Regions from separate parts of the Homo sapiens genome. Here region 2 is linked to region 1. Evidence: promoter capture Hi-C in human tissues and cell types (Jung and others, 2019). All regions are on one chromosome and are shown on one strand. Each heading gives the region's core, a stretch centred on a gene start or on the middle of the fragment in contact. The rest is flanking DNA. Distances are from core to core; before and after follow the strand shown.

Region 1 (3,789 bases), core at 147-2,646:
AGCCTTTCTAGTTGTCCTTAGGGCTTCTGGTGTTGGGAACAGGATGCAGAGTTACCAATTTAGGGGGACTGAGAGGTTAACGTGGCCAAGGCTGAGCCCTGCAGAACTGCAGAGCAACAGCACACACAGGAAAGCTAGTGAGGTTCAACATCCTCATGGAGGTTGCACACGGCACAATGAGGTCTTATTTGCCCAAGAGAATGTGCAGGGAAGTCGCCAGGCACGGTGGTGCATGCCTGTAATCCCAGCTACTCGGGAGGCTGAGGCTGGAGAATCGCTTGAACCCGGGAGGCGGAGGTTGCAGTGAGCCGAGATCGCGCCACTGCACTCCAGCCTGGGCAACAAGAGCGAAACTCCGTCTCAAAACAACAACAACAACAACAACAACAAAAACAGAATGTGCAGGGAAGTCAACGTTGGTGGCTCTGAGGTGTGGAGGACACAGGCTAGTGCCCAGCTCAGCGTGGCTCCACCTCTCTGAGCCACAGACCAACCTCACCCACACTGACAGTCCCAGGGGACACAGACTCTAGCCCCTATGTCCAATTCTACACTGTGCACGCAATGGGAAGAACAGTGCATCATGCACTGTACAGCAGAAGAAATGTCCTCTGAGTGCAGGCACAGCTCCCTTCTGTGTCTGTCCTCCCGACAGTGCCTCCACCCTCAAGGATTAGCAAGCTTCAACCCTCGCAGGACATCCACTGTGTCAGGGCCAAACGGTGCTGCATCCTGCTCTAATAGTGAGTGAAGGAGGGGACCGCAGACAAGAAGAAATGAACAAGAGACCGTTTAAGAGAGAAAAAGACGTGAAGAACATCAGACAGGGAGCAGCGCGAGGGCGCCAGGGAGGGAGGCAGCGGATTCTTCGGGCCTCTGTGAAGAGGGGGCATGAAACCGGTCTGCAGACAAGGAAAGAGCAAAGTGCAAAGGCCAGGATGCGGGGGCAGAGACGGTAGGGAGGCCGGCGTCGGCCTCGGCTAGCAGGTGGGCTTGACTCCGAGAGCCGCAGGCCGCCAGGATGGGTCCCGGGCCTGGAGCCTCCCCTCGCGGGCTTCAATGACACCCAGCACGGAAACGCGGGGGCCAGAACTACAGAAGCCCGTCCCGCCCGGAACTCAAGGTCGCGAGTGCTGTGTGGCCGGTCCGGACCCGGAGCGCGAGGACCGGAAGTGCGCGGCGTCACGCCTCTGCCCCGGACCCCGCGCGCGGAGGTGGAGAGGGGACTGGGGTGGTGGCCGCGCTATGCGCCGGGAGGTCCCCGCCTCGCAGGCCGAGGTTGCGGGTCCGCGCAGAATGCCACTTACTCTCTGGAGGCGGCCCGCACGGGTCCCTGGTCCCCGCCCCGCATGCAGCGCGGAGCCGTCCTCCCGCCACCTCCGGGCCGCCGCGGCACTGAGGGACCCGGGCCACAGCAAGCGCAGGCGGGAACCCGCGCGGGGACTGCTGGGAAACGTAGTCCCGTCATGTCCCGCTTTGACGCTGCGGAGAAAGCGGTGTAGGGAGAGGCTTGGGCTTCGGTTATCATAGAAACAGAGGCCGGCTACACCTAAAAGGCGGGGCGTGGACCTAAGTCGTCGCCAAAGAAACGGCGTTCTGGACGGGGACGTAGGGTCCCGCCCATTCCTTCTCGTGAAAGCGGGTGACTGGTCATGATTATGATTGATAGCCTCCTCTCCCAATCTGATTTCTAAGAGGTCCCAACCCGGAACCGACTTGCGGTTCGCAGGCTCCCCTCGGGTGGGAGAGTTGGGCTGGGAAGCACCTGGGGAGCTCTGAAGTGTCTTGGTGAGCGCGTTGCGAGTCAGACCGATAACATCAGAATCTGGGACTGGGCCCGAGCATATGCGCGTCAAAACTCCTCAGTTAAGTCTATTTTTTTGTATTTTTTTTGGTTTGCTTTTTTGAGACGGGGTCTCGCTCTGTCGCCCAGGCTAATGCAGTGACACCATCACGGTTCACTGCAGCCTCGACCTCCTGAGCTCAAGCGATCCTCCTACTTCAGCCTCCAGAGTAGCTGTTAACAGGGGCGCGCGCCACCACGCCCGGCTAATTTTCTTTCTTCTCTCCCTCCCCCTCCTTCTCCCCCTCCCTTCCTCCTCCCACTATGTCGCCCAGGCTGGTCTCGAACTCCTGTACTGAAGCGACCCTCCCACCTCACCCTCCCGAATAGCTGGGACTATAGGTGGGAGCCACCATGCCTGGATAGTTTTTTTATTTTTATTTATTTATTTATTTTAGAGATAGGGTCTCCATATGTTGCCCAGACTGGTCTGGAACTCCTGGGCTCAAGCGATCCTCGTGTCTCAGCCTTCCAGAGTGCTGGGAGTACAGGCTTGAGCCACTGCGCCAGGCCCCTAGTCCGGCTCCTAGTTGATTCTAACACGTGCGGCCCCATTGGGGAACCACAGCCTCCCCAGCCCCTTTGGGTGTTGCTGACTCTACGGGCCCTCCCAGGTAGGATGAACTGGTCACGCCTCCTACCCATTTGTAACCCCCAGCTCTTGCCCCCATCTATTGTGTGGCTCCTGCCCTCAATAGGGACATCTAATTTTGTTGGCCAGTCCAGCACATATATTGCATGTAACGACCCAGTTTGCCCCACCTTTCTGCCTCCACTGCATCTGCTTCAGGGATGCTGGGACTGTTCCACTCCCTTTCTCCATCCTTTGGGTGTCTGCACATCGAAAGCCTTGTCAGGAGGTCTATCTCCCTGCCCAAGTACAAAACTCAGGGCTTACCAAGCTAATTGAGGGCGAGCAGGAGGCTGAAGGGCACTTGGAGGGCTGCCCGCCTTGTGGGTCCCTTGGTGGCTGAAGAGAGTTGCACAGGAAGGCCTTGACAATTGTCACAGAGAAAGGAGTGCAGCTGCTGGCTCTGTGTGGGTGTGCAGATGTCTGACAGGTTCAGCCACTGGCCCCAATTGGGACACAAGTGGGATTTCTTTTTTTTTTTCTTTTTTGAGACAGTCTTGCTCTGTTGCCCAGGCTGGAGTGCAGTGGCCGCGATCTCAGCTCACTGCAACTTCCGCCTCCCAGGTTCAAGCAGTTCTCTGCCTCAGCCTCCCGAGTAGCTGGGATTATAGGTGCCCACGACCTCGCCCGGCTAATTTTTGTATTTTTAGTAGAGATGGGGTTTCACCATCTTGGCCAGGCTGGTCTTGAATTCCTGACCTCATGATCCACCCGCCTCGGCCTCACAAAGTGCTGGGATTCAGGCATGAGCCACTGCACCCGGCCTGACACAAGTAGGATTTCTCACACCTGTGGATGCACTGCTACTGGAGGAGTCTTGAGCCTATGTGGAAGAACTTCCCACTCCCAGGCACAGAAAGGGCCTCCCTCTGGAGTGAAGATTCTGGTGGTACCACAGGCCTGGCCACCACACAAAGGCCTTGTCCCTGCAGGGCTGGCATGGGGTGACTGGCAGCCCTGGAGTGGAGTTTGAAGCACCAATGAAAGGCCTAACCACTTGGCAGGCACAGGTGCGGGGGACTTGTCTGGAGGGGACCGGCTATGGGGGCTGTGACAGTCTGTAGGCTTTCTTCACTTCTACACAAGCCTGTTGTCTAAGTGGACCCTGCAGGGTTCATGCAGGGGCAGCACCAGAGAAGCATCTTGTGACAATGGTTACACAGGAGCGATTTCAGGAATGAGACTGAATCAGGCAAGGACCTGGAGAGGAAGCTCCAGTGGGGCTCCCACCCAAGGGGTCCAACTTTACCAATCCCACAGGTCCCCAGTCTGGGGCTCATTCTATGTCTGTAGGCCTGGGACCCTGCACCCAGGA
Region 2 (3,496 bases), core at 1-2,500, 1.0 Mb before region 1:
GTAAGATCTTCCCATCGTTGCCCATTTCTCACGGTTTCCCTCTTCCTTCAGGGTCCCCTGGCGATGGCAGAAATGAACCCTGCACAGGTGAGTGGAGTGTTTTCTACCTTTCACCTACCAGTTATCTCATAGATGGTTTTGGCACCTCCATGTAAAGAAAAGTGGTGTCCAGAGACTCTCTTTCTGTCTTTCTCCCTCTCTTATGTCTGAAAAGTGAGTGATTCCACCAGTTCTAGTATCTTAAATTAGGTCTGGGATTTTTGTTTGATTGTTTTAAGTTTACTGTGACACCTTACCTGGATGGCCCTGGATTATGTGGAGTGGCTCCCATTTTTGACAGTTGACGTGGTAACATCTGTCAGAGTGTCATGGGCACAAGATTAAGAATGTTTCAGTGTTTAGAGGAGAGACTGAACTGGATTTTTAGGGAACTGCAAGTGTCTGTTATATCGGATAGGAATAGGGAGCAGAGTGGGAGGTGGCTAGAGACACACAAACATCAGGCCTGGAATGACAGCCTAGGTCCTGGGTCTCTAATCTAAGGGAGGTGGTAGATGGGGAAGATTTGAAGCAGAAGAGGGCAGTGATAGGACCCTAGCTTAAGGAACTTTCTTTGGCGTCTGAGTGGAGGACAGACTGTGGAGGTGAGGGTAATGGCAGGGAGATCTGAGAGGATGTTCCTGCAGCAGTCTAGGTGGATGTTGGTGGTGACTTGTCAAGAGTAGCGGTGGCTTCAGGATGTGTTTTGAACTGGAGCTGCCCACATTTTATGATGTAGAGAGTGAGGCAGCTGGGGGGGTGGGATAGAAGGGGAATCAGGAGTGGCCCCATGGTTTTTGTTTGGAAGCATAGATGCTCCATCAGCTAAGATGGGAGAAGTCAGCAGTATTAGGAATTTTCAGAGTGAGTGTGAGGAGTCAGTGTTTGTTCAAGCCACAGATGTCTCAGAGACTCCTGGTGGAGGAGTTCAGGTTGGAGACGTCCACACTATGGTGGCTGTCGTATGGACCAGGATGAAGCCATGGATTCAGTTTAGGTGACAGCATCTCTAGGTTATGGTGGCAGTGCTGTTCGAAGACAGAGAATTGGAATGGGGCATGAGAACTGGGTCTCTTACTGGGTAGCTGTGCAGTGGTGGAGGAGTCACTAGACAAATGAGGGAATGGAGTGTTTGTGGGGATGAGTGTATGTGAGATGGTGGGGTATAGGAGTGAGAAAGACTTCTGAAGGAGAGTGGACATGATGGGGTTGCTGAGGAGGGTAATAGGGTGAGGTCGGAGAGTTGCTAAGCATCAGTTGGAATGAGATGAGGATGGGAATTCTATTAGTCTGTTTTCATATTGCTACAAAGAACTACCTGAGACTGGGTACTTTATGAAGAAAAGAAGTTTAATTGACTCACAGTTCTTTTTTTTTTTTTTTTTTTTTTTTGAGATGTGGCCCAGGCTGGAGTGCAGTGGCACAATCTCGGCTCACTGCAATCTCTCCCTGCCAGGTTCAAGCGATTCTTCTGCCTCAGCCTCCTGAATAGCTGGGACGACAGACTCACCCCACTACGCCCAGCTAATTTTTGTATTTTTAGTAGAGATGGGCTTTCACCATGTTGGCCAGGATGGTCTTGATCTCCTGACCTCGTGATCCATCCTCCTCAGCCTCCCAAAGTGTTGGGATTACAGGCGTGAGCCACCGCACCCAGCCCATAGTTCTTCAGGCTTAACAGGAAGCATAACTCGGAGGCCTCAGGAAACTTACAATCCTGTGTCCATGAGGCAGGACACAGCTGAGAGTATGTGAAGTCCTCACATGGTTTGGGCACCTGACAGTGAAGTGAGAAACAGGGCCATGTAGGGAACCTTCAACCCAGGGCTTAGGGCTGCCCCCGGTGCTAGGGAACTTTGGTGTTCTGGGGCAGGACTGGGAGTGAATTGGATGCTGAGCGTATTTGCCGTGCACCACCTGGTTTCTGTGTGCAGAGTGGCCTGTTAGGAGGTGAAGGAAATGCCTGTGGTGTGGGCTGGGAGGTGTCTGTGGAATTGACTGGAGTGGAGGTGTGAGAGATGGGATTGGAGTGCTGTCCAAAGAGTGATGTGCAGGCAGGAGGAGTGTGAATGGAGGGCCTCAGGCCCTGGCCCTGGTAGCTCAAGGGAGGAGGATGAGTCTGAGTTTGGTTGTCTTGGGAGGCAAGATCTGGGTGACTCCATGGAAACTGGCTGGCAGGAGAGGATGGATCCCCCCACGGGAGGCCCACATTCCTTTTCTACCTTATCTTCCATCTGTTTCCTCTGTGTGCTGGACACGGTGGCCAATGTCAATATGGAGAGAAAAGTCACTCATGCCACCTGGATGTGGTTTCTCTTCCACATTGGGAGGGTGTAGAGATTGAGGAAGGAAAGGAGGTGTAGGGGAGAGGGATGAGTTCCTGGAGAGAGAAAAGTAGCAGTGATTGTACCCATTGGGGTTTTTTGTTTTTTTTTTTTTAGATGGAGTCTTGCTGTGTTGTCACCCAGGCTGGAGTGCAGTGGCATGATCTTGGCTCACTGCAACCTGCACCTCCTGGATTCAAGCAGTTCTGCCTCAATCTCCCAAGTAGCTAGGACTACAGGCATGTGCCGCCATGCCCACCTAATTTTTGTATTTTTAGTAGAGATGGGATTTCACTGTGTTGGCCAGGCTGGTCTTGAACTCCTGACCTCAGGTGATCTGCCCGCCTCAGCCTCCCAAAGTGCTGGGATTATAGGCATGAGCCACTGTGCCTGGCCCCCATGGAGTTTTAATTTATGGATGTGAGTGAGTGATGCCAGGGACAGGCCAATGACACTGAAAGAAGATATTTATTCCTTACGTTTCCCTAAGGAGGTTACATACCACATAACACAGGGCCACACGGTGAAACACCAGATTTGATCAGGAGGAAAATTGGAGTGAGTTTAGTTTAGTCCACAGATGCTGTTGGGGTTTCCAAGGGAAACAAGGCAGGGCTGGCTGTCAGGATAGTTTGGCTAGTTTTAGTAATTCCAGGACACCTGGGCTATTGGGACTGTCCCTAGTTGTGCAGTACCTGTCCCTGGGTTGATTTAGAGCATGGGAAATACTGACTTGGTTTGAGAAAGTTAGAGATGGAGATGGTTAAGAATATGTGCCCAGGATGGTAGGGGAGATGGAAACACATTTAGCTGTTAGTTTGTCCCTGTGTTTAATGGGTGGTAAATATAAGTAGAAAATAAATAGAGAACTTAAGTAAATACAGTTTGAAAAGCTGCTCATGTATTCATCTTTCCCAATTTGGCAGGGTCATGTGGTTTTTGAAGACGTGGCCATATATTTCTCCCAGGAGGAGTGGGGGCATCTCGATGAGGCTCAGAGATTGCTGTACCGTGATGTGATGCTGGAGAATTTGGCCCTTTTGTCCTCACTAGGTAAGGCCCTCACACTTGCCCAGTGTCCTGGGTTGGGCTGTGTTGTCTCCTTTTACCTGAAGGCAGCTCTGCGTTTCCCA

The links. The method cuts DNA at HindIII sites, captures the fragments that hold promoters and counts their contacts. A contact is called where the count stands out against the background at its distance.
Region 2: a fragment that was not itself captured here is called in contact with the fragment with the promoter of ZNF837 in region 1 in 1 of the 25 tissues and cell types used here (dorsolateral prefrontal cortex).

The regions. Positions count from the first base shown.
Region 1 is chr19:58,379,634-58,383,422 of GRCh38, forward strand. It overlaps ZNF837 (zinc finger protein 837), which reads right to left and starts at 1,397. Exons shown (of 3, transcript NM_138466.2): 1 at 1,308-1,397. RefSeq lists enhancers at 121-662, 479-708, 663-1,204, 739-798 and a silencer at 1,149-1,658. The HindIII fragment of the contact is 47,170 bases long and covers 1-3,789 here.
Region 2 is chr19:57,368,493-57,371,988 of GRCh38, forward strand. ZNF547 (zinc finger protein 547) reads left to right here. Exons shown (of 4, transcript NM_173631.4): 2 at 52-87; 3 at 3,290-3,416. The coding sequence starts at 64. Among named protein-coding and RNA genes, the nearest start is that of ZNF547, 6.7 kb to the left of the region's middle. The HindIII fragment of the contact is 8,803 bases long and covers 1-3,496 here.